2 separate regions of the Homo sapiens genome follow, and region 2 is linked to region 1. The links are contacts of gene promoters, found by promoter capture Hi-C in blood cells and fetal thymus (Javierre and others, 2016). All regions are on one chromosome and are shown on one strand. The core of a region is centred on a gene start or on the middle of the fragment in contact, and the rest is flanking DNA. Distances in the headings are between cores, read along the strand shown.

The links. The method cuts DNA at HindIII sites, captures the fragments that hold promoters and counts their contacts. A CHiCAGO score of 5 or more calls a contact.
Region 2: a fragment that was not itself captured here is called in contact with the fragment with the promoter of RBMS1 in region 1 in 1 of 17 cell types (monocytes); the score reaches 5.4 in monocytes.

Annotation. Positions count from the first base shown.
Region 1 is chr2:160,490,296-160,496,394 of GRCh38, forward strand. RBMS1 (RNA binding motif single stranded interacting protein 1) reads right to left here and starts at 3,512. Exons shown (of 14, transcript NM_016836.4): 1 at 2,994-3,512. The coding sequence starts at 3,068. RefSeq lists an enhancer at 3,053-3,573 and a silencer at 3,760-3,939. The HindIII fragment of the contact is 13,330 bases long and covers 1,141-6,099 here.
Region 2 is chr2:160,728,830-160,735,704 of GRCh38, forward strand. No RefSeq gene overlaps it. Among named protein-coding and RNA genes, the nearest start is that of RBMS1, 240 kb to the left of the region's middle. The HindIII fragment of the contact is 765 bases long and covers 2,804-3,568 here.

The sequences.
Region 1 (6,099 bases), core at 2,262-4,761:
CACTGAGAAATAAAAAAAAAAAACAAAAAACCAACAGCATGTGAAATCAGGTTACTTGAAATTTATGTAACTCTACACCAAGGTATTATGAATATTATACAATCTCATTCATTTCCACTCATGTCCTGCTCTTCCATAGTACACTCAAGTTTATTTTACATTTCATGGAGACATATTACTTTTTCTAATGATTTTTTTTCTTTCTGTCAAAGTACAAAGCATACCAATATGGTCATTTGCTCCAATATAGCCCAACGGATGGTATTTTTTTATTAATAAAATGTGGAAGTAACTAGTATGTTTTTATGGGGAAAATTACAAAATAAGTTTACCAAAATAGACTGGATCACTAAAACAAGAAGAATGGTTTGGCATATATAACTTTTAAAAGTATGGTAACAAAACAAACTGTTAAGTTCCATTTTACCTGGTATTATCTGTTCCTTCTGATTAAAAGAATTAGATTTGAGAAAATCACATCTATCTCTTGAGTACAAATTAGCTATCACTTTTTAGATGACCATGCCATTCTTCAGTTTTTGATATAGCTTCCAAACAGAAGTTTCAAAATGACTCTGCCTAGCAAACACATCACTGTACTTTAAACAGAGTGATGTTTTCTATCCCATATTTTCGGAAGGTTAAAGCACACACAGAGGCAAGAATCATGACAGACAGCAGATCCTAAGAGAGTTTATTAACTCTTTAGGTAGATTAGGCAACACTTGTTTTTAAACTAACTACAAATCAAAGTCTTTTTTTTTTTAAATGATTCAACATTACTACCATGCTACCAACAGATACATAAGGGAGAGAAAAAAAAAAGGGCTGCCTGTTCCGAACTCTGCTTACCTAAAATTTGCATCTAGTCACGTGCCATTTTTAGAAGATGTCCCCTTCTGAGATAATCAAGATACTTGTACAACAGGGAATTTAGACTTAATTACCAAACTTTAATACCATGTTATATAGGTCAAGTGAGTATGTATACCTTTCTCCAGAAACAAAGGAATTCCGAATAATAGGATTTCAGATTTAATTGTAGAATTAGCAAAATGTTTTGAGAATGTCATTTACCGCAACACAAATCAATATTAAATGCTTTATGCAGGAAGCACACTTTCAGAAAATGGGCCGTAAAGCTTTCTGGGATCCGACCCTAATTACTAGAGCAGGCTCTTGCCGTTTGTCTCTCTCTTCAATTATTTACAGGGCAAAAAAGCCAAATGGCATTGCATTAGCTACATTAAATGGTATGGACTTGGTTTCTAACTTACTAATGGTATATAAAAATTACTAAGGTAAATGTGCCTGTAGAAACATGGCTTTTTTTCTTCCTCACCTGAGTGGGTGTATTTATTATTCATATTGTTAAGTGTTGAATAAGCTGTCCTTTAGGCACCCAATGCTGCATAATTTAAACAAGTGCATTAAATATATAAGATATCTAAAAGGTAGTGCATTGATTATGCCACAAAATTTCTTTGAACAGCTACCATGTAGCTCACAGAAAACTAGCATCTCCTGCAAGTTCCTAAAACAAATACTGTGAGAACTACACAGAGATGAATAAGGGGTATCCTTGCTGCTACCATCTTGCTGCTTTCTGGTGACCCAAAGTAAAGTGGGAATTGGGGGAAGTGAAAATGAGGCCCGGGATTGCTAGGACATTTCTGGTCTCGAAACTGACAAGTGTCCTTTTTACGTAGACAAATACAGGGCTATGTCGTAAGTACATGAAAACGTGGACCACACACATTCTAAGAAAGAAAAGGCTGAATCAGAGATTCTTTGTACCAGGCCGGAAATGCCCAACTACCAGCAAGCAGAGCATGATTACAACCTCCCAAAGAAAGTTCGGACACTGCATCCATACCTGATTCTTTTGTGATCTAGAAGGGCACCCAGAGTTGTGATAGATGTTAATGGCTGAAGAAGGCTGCTGCGTCCAACTTCCACCCTCCCAAATTCTGGCGGCTGCTTCCAAAGCAGTGAAATTTCCAGTCTTCATGGCCCAAATAATTTTTTTAAATGAGTTCGGGAGGCATCAAATTCTTATTGTAAAAATAAGATAGGCCCACTAACAAAGTACCCAGGGTCCCTAGAAAGCCAGGCGCAATTTGTATGGCTACATGTCATCAACTGTTGTTACCCAAGAGTGTGCCGAGGTCACTTTTTAAAAAGCAACATTGGAAATCGATCTGTGGCAAACATATAAGCTAGTTTTGTTTTTGTTTCTTTTTTAACCAAATACGAAGTCACTTCTTTCTCTGCACTGAAATCTGCCCATTGTCCCTCCTTTGCAAAACCTCTAGAGATTAGAAGGGACATCAATGAACGCGAGTGAACTTTGGCCACTTTTCTACCCAAAACACCAGCGTAAAAGTAGAAATCAGTAACCAGGTGAAGTGCCACACCGCACAAAGATCAGAGGCGAGGGGCGGGCGCTCAGGGCCGGAGGCGGGGAGGAAAATATCCCGGCCCCGCCGCCCCTCCAGCCCCAGTCATCGCGTGCGCGGGAGGTGGAGGGGCGTCCCTGGGGGGCGGGAGGCTCCGCGCCACGGCGAGGGGAGCGAAGAGTTACAGCTTACAGGGCGAGGCCCTTGGAGAAGGGGTCGAAAAGCCGGGCCACCAGCGGATCCAGACGCGCACACCAGGCGACGGCCGCCGGCCAGCCAGGGCTCGGCGAGGGGCGCCGCTCGACCCCACGACCCTCCCCGCTGGCCGGGCCAGGAAGGGGCTGGTGGCTCTTTCCTGTCTAGTCTCTCCCCCCGCGGCTTTCTGTAACCCGATCCCCGCACTCCGCTCCCAGGGAAGCCGCCGCCCCGCGCGCCGCCCGGCTCTGCCCAGGCCAGCGCTATAGTTAGCAACCTTCCAGCAACTCCGCCCGGCGGTGGCGGGGGTTCGCCGCGCGCCCCCCTCCCCAGGCCTGACCCTGCGCGCGTCCCCGGGCCCCCTCCTCCGGCCGTCACCTCTCCCCGGCGCCCCTTTACCTTGGCTTGCAGATACTGGGGGTAATAGTAGGTGGCGTACTGAGGGTACATCTGCTGTTTCCACACTTTGCCCATGAAGCTGGAAGGGAGCCTGCCGTGCAGGGTCGCGGACACTTTGGGGTTTCCAAGTCTCGGGCTCTCCTGCCTCTCCCTTTCCGGCGGCGGCGGCAGCGGCGGCGGCGGCGGCGGCTGCTGCTGCTGCCGCTGCTCCACCTCCCAGCCGGGACCAGACGTCCTCCTCCTCCTCCTCCTCTTCCTCCTCCTCCTCCTCCTCCTCCTCCTCTTCCTCCTCCTCCTCCTCCTCCCAGGCAGAAAGAAAGACACTGCAGAGCGCAGAGGGCACCCCGGACAGGGCGCTCCCAAGGAGTTTCCTCCCGGAGCCCGACTGCTCCGGGGCTGCCAAGGGCTGGCGCGCTGGCCGCGGTCCGCTCGGGCGAGCCGGCTGCGCGGGGCTGAGAGGTGATCAATACAAGTGGAAAGTGCGGCAGCGGCGGCTGCGCTTGGTGCCAGGCGGCATCTGGGGTGGGTGCGCCCGATGTGGAGAGAGGAGAGGGGCTGGCGTTCCGAGGCCGTGGGGGAAGGGCGGGCGGGGGCGGGGCCTGGGCGCCGCCGAGCCCGGGACCCGCTGGAGGTGAGGGCTGAGTTTTAACCACTCCTCACCTCCCAGGCTCGCGGTTGGACGGGCGGAAGCCCTGTGAGTCCAGATCGCTTTGTGTCGGGGGTGGGGAAATGGGAGTGGGAGTGGGGGTGGAGGGGGAATGCGGGGGGACCCAGCTTAAGAACTGCAGGGCGGGCACCTCTTTTGCTTTCCCGAGTTTTTATCTTCGTAAGGGGGAGGGGAAATAAGGGAAAAGAGGAAATCTGATTAATCGTTCACTTCCCACCGCCCAGTAATTTTTTTTCACAAGGGAAGGAAAATGATTTAATGCCCAACAAAGCTGGAGTCTGGACACCTGGGTTCTGTTCCTCCCACCCACCCCCGACCCGGGGCCACAAGACTAATCTAGGTGACCTTGGGAGGGTTAGCGTCCTTCGGTTTGGTTTTCCCAGATGTGAGACGTGAAATCATGCCCCTTGCACAAGGGGAGGCAAAGCACATACATACATACACACACACACACACACACACACACACCCCTCACAACATATAGACGGATCCTTCTAAGAGGGGGATGCCGCAAAGAGGCAGAATGTTATTAGAGGACACAATATAGACATCAGCTTTTCTCTGCCTCTTTCTAATGCTGCCAGACAGTCTGTCAACTCCCACTCAGGAGCAAGGAAACTCCCTGAGTTTGGAATATTTTAAGGCCATTTTGAAAGTCACGCTGGCATATTGTTGCAGTGTGCTTCAGTGACATATAAAATCAATCTCTCTTTCTGCCTCTCTCCATCTCCTAATTGTCACAGCTCTAGACAGCCTCAGACCAGCAGTGGTTCAGTTCACTACATAACTAGATATAATTTAATGGAATTAATTGGTCCCCGAAGCTGCCTGCAGAAGACTTTTATATTCCAGCTCAAAAAGAGAGCTAATACCAAAATGTACATACGGATAGCATAGGTAAGCAAGCATCCTCAAATTAGGGTTCCGGCACATCTAATAAAATGTAATAAAAAACTGTGTTTGTTATTAAATAGACCTTGTTTACTTTGTCATTTTGGTTTTTGAAGAGTCTTTTGTTAATAGCACAAGGTAAATTAAACTCAACTGGAATGCATTATTTTGTTAAACAGTTATTATTTTTATATGATAACATTTTAAAATAGGTTTAGTAAGATACTTTAAAACAATGACAAAATAAGGACCTGAAACCCTTATAATCGTTCTATGGTTTAGACAAATTTCTAGATCTTACATGTTTGACAAAAACAAAATAAATATAAGTATAGGTGAGAACATTTTGGCTCTGCCAGGAGGCAAATCATGTCCCTCTCATTTACCTATGTAAAAGCCTATAAGGAAGCTAATATTTACTATGTCTGCTATATTGTAGGCACTGTTGAGGTGCATGCAGACCTGAAAAGTGGAATGGGTCACTGTCAGACTAGGGGAGCCTAAAATATTTCCCATATTGTTTCAATGTGGGGCCTTTTAATGTTTTTAAACAGGGAACTGACATGAACTAAATTGTGCTTTAGGAAGACTAGGAATGATGGTTTGGAAGAGTGACAGAAGGAAGAGAAGTAAATCGAGAACAATCGCAGAAGTTCTAGGTTTGAGGTAATAAGGGAAACTACCAAACTTAGACTGTTCTACTTACTGTTTTTTCTGGATGATGGAAATTCAGCCTGTTTTAGAGAGCCCAAAAGCAGACCTACACTTGTATAGACACTTGATTTATGACTGAGTTGGTATTATAGCGCAGTGGAGAAAGAATGAACTTTTCAATAAATGATTCTGGGTCAACTGGCAATCATATGGAAAAAATGAAATGGGAGCCCTGCCTCACACATACCAAGGGAGGAGGGTGGAAAATTGAGGTGAATCATGACCTGGATGTGAAAAACAAAAGTATAAAGCTGTTAGAAGACAATATAGAAGAATACCTTTTTGACCCTGAAATAGGAAAGATTGGTTAAATAAGGGGAACAACAGTGTAAGATTGACAGATTTGACTGTTAACATTAAGAACACTGGTTCATTGAAGGATTTTATAAAAAGCGATAAAAGCCACTAAATACCTGTAATACATATAACACAAAAGGTTAGTATACAGAATGTATAAATAATCAATAAAAAAAGAGAACTTGTTAGAATATGAACAAAAGAATGAATGTGTATTTCACAGAAGCACAAATATTCAGAAAACATATAAAAAGATGCTCAAGTTCATTAGTAATAAGAGAAATGCAAATTAAAATAATACTACTATACCATTTCATATTCACCGGATTTGCAAAAATTAAGAACTCTAAAAATATTAAGAGTAGGTAAAAATGTGGAAGGGGGGAAATCTGAAAACACTGCTTCCTGGAGGAAGTATAAATTGGTCTAACCACCACTTTAGAAAACAATTTGGCATTCCTGAATTTCATTTGCATGTTTCCTACAACACAGTAACAGGTACGTACCTTAAATAAATTATTTTATATGTGCACCAGG
Region 2 (6,875 bases), core at 1,936-4,435, 240 kb after region 1:
GTTGAAAAACTAAGTATTAGGTATTATGTTCACTGTTTGGGTGACTGGTTCAACTGAAGCCTAGACCTCAGCATCATGCAGTATATTCATGTAACAAACCTGCACATGTATGTACCCCTTGAATGTAAAATTCGATAAAAAAGAGCATGGCTCTGGAGTCAGATTTCTTGGGTTGAATTTCTGCCTCTACTGCTTACCAACTTAAGGCAGCATTCTTAATCTCTCTTTGCATTAGTTGCCTCATTACTGTTATTATAATGTATGCTTAAAGGTTATTGCTAAAATCGTATTAGTCTTTTATCAAAACATCTATATGTTGCATTTGTTTGCTTACTTATATGTCTTTTATGAGACTCTAGGCTCCTTAAAGACCAAATGGGAATACACTGTTGTATTTCCATTTCTTAACACATAGTAGACACTGAATAAATTAATATTCCCTTTTCTAAAACAATCTTTCTATGAGACTTTCATCCTGCTAATTTTCATTCTCTGAACTTATAGAGATTTTTATCTCACTTTAACTCTTCTTCTACATGTGGACATAAATCTGTAGTACATATTATGCTTACTTTATTCATTTACTCTATTAATTGTTCTATTTAATTAGCTTCAGCTCAACAACTTTTGGGTCCTTTACAGCCCACCTTTTCTTACCCTGTTTATCCCCTTTTTTCTGCTTTTTTTTCTCTATTCTTATTGTAAAGTAATTATTGTGCTTATCATTCTTAGTGTCTTTCTGACTGGACCTATCTGCTTGTCTGACTTAGCAAGGTCATTTAGAATTCCAGTCCCATCTGTTAAGGAGTTTACTTTCTCTCCAGGTGACTATGTCAGCTAAATCAATGAGTTTCCTATTTCTTTAGCCAGGTCATTGATGAAAGTTAAAACATACACCTTCTACCTATTTACAGATACAAGATGTTATTCTCCAAGTTATAAGATCATGAGCAGATATGTGAAAAGCCAAGTTTAATAAGAAGATTGTTTTGTAGAAGAAATATTTTTGTAAAAAAAACTTTTCAGTATGAGAATGAATAACTTTTGGCTCAATAATTATTTGCTTAATTGTTCAGTAGCCTACAACCCAATATTTCAGCTTATTAAACTATTATTTAGTTTCATGTAATTTTTTTTTGGTTGTCTTAAAGTCTCCCCAAGCCTGTCTCACATCTGAGTTTATCCAACAGATATACATTGTGTCCTCTATGCAGGTGCAAATCAAAATCTAGCAAACTAGCAATTAAGTATAAATCCTAGTTTTAGTGCAATTTGGATGAGCAACTCTTTAGGCTGGGTTAGAACAGGTTGTAAGATTTGTAGCAATAATTGGTAGAATCTTGACTTTAATAAGGTGGAATTATAACATATATGTTGCACTAAAGAAAAAGATAAACCAACAGATCAAAATCTCATTCCTTCATTTGATGACAGTAATAAATCTACATGATGTGCTTGCAGATGAAAGGAAGTCATTGTGATTTTTTATCTTGGAAAAATACATCCTTGTTAGGAATCAAAGATAACCTCTTGAGTAAAGTCTTGTTCCGAAACATTTTGCCATGTTGAAAGGTATGTTCAACTTTCTTGGTGTTTACCCAGGCAGTTCAAGCAGCTTTACAGGTCACAGAAAGTGACCTGAGCTCTTTACCATTGGCATCCAAAGGTTTCCATCAAGTCCTCAGGAGAATGCCATTTCATTGCTTTTTCAGCCCAACAGACCTACAGCAGTTTGTTTGTAAGATCACCTCCTGAACAGTAGAAAGAATCATGACAAAGGTAGAGATTTGCAGTCATAGTTACCACTGAGGCTGAATTTTAGTGGATTAACTTGCTTCATTGAAAAACATCTTTTACAGAGATATGAAGACTTTTTGTAAGCAAAACTGAAAAGGTCTTATAGGATGTTCAGCCTGATGTTTTGTTTTTCCCTACTGGGGCTTTCCCTTAGGTTGTAAATTCCAGCTTTCTAATGTCAGATTCCTCCTTTGTTGAGCTCTAAGGCATTTCTGGAATTACTCAGTAAAGGGACTTTGACAATCCCCTGCCCTGTTCTTAGGTCATAGAGCTGATTTATGGCTGGAGGAGGTTCTCTAAACAGTAGGTGAAATTGGTGAAATGTTATTCATTTATTAAAGTGGGCTTAGGAGTTCCTCCTGCTGATCAGTGGGGGTTGTCCTAAATCTAATCAGCCCTGGGTGCATCAACTTATTACTATTTTGTAAGTTTTCCTGCAGGAAAATGAACTTCACCATTACAGAATTTTAAGGGTAAAATCTGAAGAGTACATTGATGGTGTTATGGCAATTCTAAATCTGCAGTTTCAGGTTGATAGTATAGAAGCAGCTTCAGAAATGAATACTCCTATTAAGGTAAACTCATGAATTCAATATTCTTTCAACAGACATTTATTGACACGTGTCCATTCTGTTCATGTACTGCACTAGGTACCATGGATACAACAGAGAATGAGGCAGACAAACTGTCTTTTGTAACTTACTGGGGACAGACATTAATATTAAATAATAGCAAATATATGGTAAAATGGCAAGTAGTGTTCAGAGTTATGAAGAAAAATAAAGCACAGGCAGGGTACAGAGAATTGGGGTTGTCATTTTGGGTATGTACTACTTTTCTATTGCTGCTTTAGCAAATTACCACAAATTTAGTGATTTAAAATAACTTGAACTGTTGTCTTACTGGTCTGCAGGTTAGAAGTTTTACCCTGGTCTCAATGGACCAGCATCAAGGCATCAGCAGGCTCTAGGGGAGAATCCCTTTCCTTGCTTTTCCAGATTCTAGAAGCTTCTCACATTCCTTGGCTTGCTATCCCCTTCTTCTACTGATGTGAAGCAGCATCATCACATTTTTCTGACCCTTCATTCACTGTCACCTCTTCTTCTGACCACAGCCAGGAAAGGCTTTCCTATTTTAAAAGCTATGTGATTATATTGGGTCCTCCCAGATAATCCAAGACAATCTGTTTATTTTAAGGTCAGTTAATTAGCAACTTAAATTTCATCTACAACCTTAATTCCTTTTTGCCACATAAAATAACTTATTCACAGTTTCCATGGGATTAGGGTGTGAACATCTTTAGGAGTCCATTATTCTGTCTTCCAACAGGTACTTTAAATAAGTCTCATTCAAGTGGTAATTTCTTAATTAAGATTTGAATGGATGAGGACTCAACCCAAGTGAATATGTGGAGGAATAGTATTGCAGGCAAAGGCAAGGTATTGTAAGTTCCCTCTTTGAAAGGGAAAGGATGCAGGAGGCTGGCCCAGAGTAAGGAAGACAAAAGGTGATTGACAAGGTCAGAGAAATAGGAAGGGATCAAATCAAGTAAGACACCAGAGGCCTCAATGAGAAGCTGGGTTTTATTCTCTATATGACAGGAAACCATCAGAGTATTTAGAACAGAAGAGTGACATGATCTAATATATAATTTTAAAATGTCATTCTGGACAATGCCTTTGGAAAACAGTTTGACATTATCTTGTAAATTTGAAGATGCACATATTCCATTACCTAGGAATTCTATTCGTGTATTTGTGCCACAGAGAAAAGCTTATATATGTATACTGGGAATATATCCAATTATACCTGTATCTACAGTTAGTAATAATCTAAGCAAACAAAGAAAAAACTTGCATAAAACCCAATATCCATCAAAATTGTTAGTAAACTGTGGGAAATGCATACGATAGACTACTGTATAATAGTGAGAAATGAATAAATTCTAACTATATATCACGACATGATAAATCCCAGGTACCACCTAATGTTTAGCAAAAAAAAAGCAAGACTGTGAGAAGCACACAGTCATTAATTTATTCTAGAAATATTTCTTAATTTTAAGAAATATTTAAGCATTTACTTTGTACAAACATTGTATTGGGATATATTTGTAGACAAAATTGACAGAGATCTCTCTGCTCATGGAACTTACCTTCTAATAGTTGGACATAGAAAATCTATAGTAGACGGAATAAATAGGCAAATCATATGGTACGATAGAAGGTTAAAAAAATGATGAAAATAGAAAATAGAGCAAAGTAATGGAGATGGAACTGCTGTCATTTAAAATAGGATGATAGAGTAAGCACCACTGAGAAATATTTAAGACTGAAGGAAACCTTTTGGTTATCTTGATGAAGAACTTTGATCAGCTTGATGAAGACACTTGAAACTGCCAGTGCAAAGGCCTTAAAGATTAGAGGAAGAAGGCCAGTATGACTGGAGAGGAGAGAGTGAGATGAGATGGAAGACAGAAGAGATCAGCAGATGGAAAGTCATGTTTGGGGTCGGGGAGTCTTTTGAGCGTTGGTAGGGGCTCTGTGCTTTGGGAGTGACGAGAAGCAACTAAAGAGCACAGAGTAGAGGGTCTTCGTGGTCTGATATATATTCTAAAAGAACCACCCTGGCCAATGTGTTCAAAACAGACTGCAAGAGACAAGGGCAGAAACAGTGAGACCAGTGAGGAGGTTACTTTGGTGAGTAGGGTGAAAGATGATGGTGGCTGCGATGAGAGTGGCAGCAGCAAGGATTTTGAGAAGAAAGAATCTGGATTTATACATTTTTTCTAAAAAAATTAAATTGTTTTTATTTTGACATAATTTTAAGGTCATAGAAAACTTTCAAGAATAATACAAGTTCCCAGGTACATTTGCGTACTCTCTCTCGCTCGCTCCACACGCGCGCACGCGCAGACCCACACATGAGCGCATGCACACACACACACACACACACACACACACACACACACACACACACACACACACACACGTTCTCTCATATAACCCCGGAACAATTATCCAAATCAGGAGATCACCATTGATACAATAATGTTATTTAACCTACAGAACTTATTCAGATCTCACTATGTGTCCGAATTATATCCATTAAAGCAAAGGAAAATTTTGGATCATATTTGTGTTGCTATTTCTCTTTAGTTTCCTTTAATCTGGAATAGTTCCAGTCTTTTTGTCCCTAGTAACATTGACATTTTTTAAGTATGCTGGCCAGTTTTCTGTTTGTTTGTCTTTAGAATGTCCCTGAATTTGAGTTTGTCTGGTGTTTTCTCATGATTAGGTGTAGGTTCTGCATTTTTGGCAGGAATACATTCTTGGCACAGAGGTGATGCTATGTCTTTCACAGTGCATCATACAACGGGAGGCACAGACATGTGCCATTGATTTATCCCACTTCTATTAAGGTTACTTAGTTAAGGTGGTGTCTGTCAGGTTTATCCAATGTAAAGTCACTAATTTTTCTTTTTAATTAAAAAATAACTTGTGGGGAGATACTTTGAAACTATGCAGTAAATATCCCGCCACTTATCAAACTTTCACCACTGGTTTTGGCATGCATTGATGATTCTTCCATGAACTGATAATTATCACAATGCTGAATGATGACTTTTCTAATTCTGTCATTTCTTCTAAATTTACTATTGGCTTTCTACTGAAACAGAACATTTTCCCTTCTCCCTCTATTAATTAACAACATGTATTCTTCGTTCAATGAATCTTAACCTATTAATATCATTATTTGTTTAAGTACTCAAATATCTCAGATTTGGTCAATGGGAGCCCTTTAAAATGGTTCCTGTGTCCTTTTGACATGTCCCTGTCCTAATTTGAGTACTTTCTCATTTGTAGCACACTAAGATGGTCCAGGTTTATTTTGTACTTTTCCAGCCCTGGCCCAAGAATCAACCATGTCTCCAAGAATTACTGGTTCCTTTCAATTAAATATTGGTAGGTAGTTGCCAGGTATGTTCATTGTTTTTGATATCTGTGTATGTTTTGAAGGTGGGAGTAAAAAGAAAAGGAGTCAAGGATGATTCCAAGATTTCTAACCTGAGCAAATGGGGGGATGGGGGTATCACAAAATGAGATGGAGAAGGCCAAGGTAGAGTACATTTGGAGAGAGGACCTGGAGTTCAGTCTGGCCACGTTGAGATGTTTATTAGACATTCCAGTAGAAATGGCAATTAGGCATTTGGATATCTGGGTCTGTAGTTCTACAGAGAATCCTTCTCTGGGGATAAAATTTGGAAATCATCAGTGTGTAGGTGGTATTTAAATCCATGAGAAGGAATGAGATCATCAAGGGGATGAGCATAGATAGCAAAGAGAAGATAACCAAAGTCTGAGACCTGGGGCATGGCAACATAAGAGGTCAGGGATAAGAAGGAAAAACAACAAAGAAGACTGAGGAAGAAGGAAAGAAGAAAGAACTTGATGTTCCAGCTGTCAGGGGAAAAAAGGGCACCAAGGAGGAGACAGTGATCAACCATGTCAAATGCTGCTGCTAAGTCAGGTCAGATGAAGTCTGAGAATTGAGTAACACGAGGATTGAGAATTGACCATTAAAAGGGGGCAGTTAGCCTAATTGGAGTGGGCTTAAGTGAGTCTAGGAAATATGGAATTAAACAGAACAAGTATAGAATAATACTTTTAAAGGGCTTGTTGTACAGAGGAGCAAAAGAATGGAGTAGTAACTATAGGGAGTTGGAGGTCACAAGAAGGTTTTTGAGTTCATTTTTTATAAGATGGAAGAACTAACAGCAAGGTTATGTGTTACTGATGGAAGTGATGGAGAAGCTAGTGAAAAAAGTGATGAATGGAAGAAGCTTGAATAGGTGGAGTCTGTTTTCTTGCTATTTCCAGTTTCCCTTTCTAGAGGCTACCCATGTTTCTTGCCCCCTGACTCCCTTCTTCCGTTGTCAAAACTAGCAATAGCAGGGGGTGTCTCTTTCCATCTCTCTGACACCTCCTTTCATCCTCCTCCTTTCTCTCATTGCACCCAAGAAATGTTCTACAATTTTAAGGACTCATGTGTTTTGATTGAGCCTACCCAGATAATCT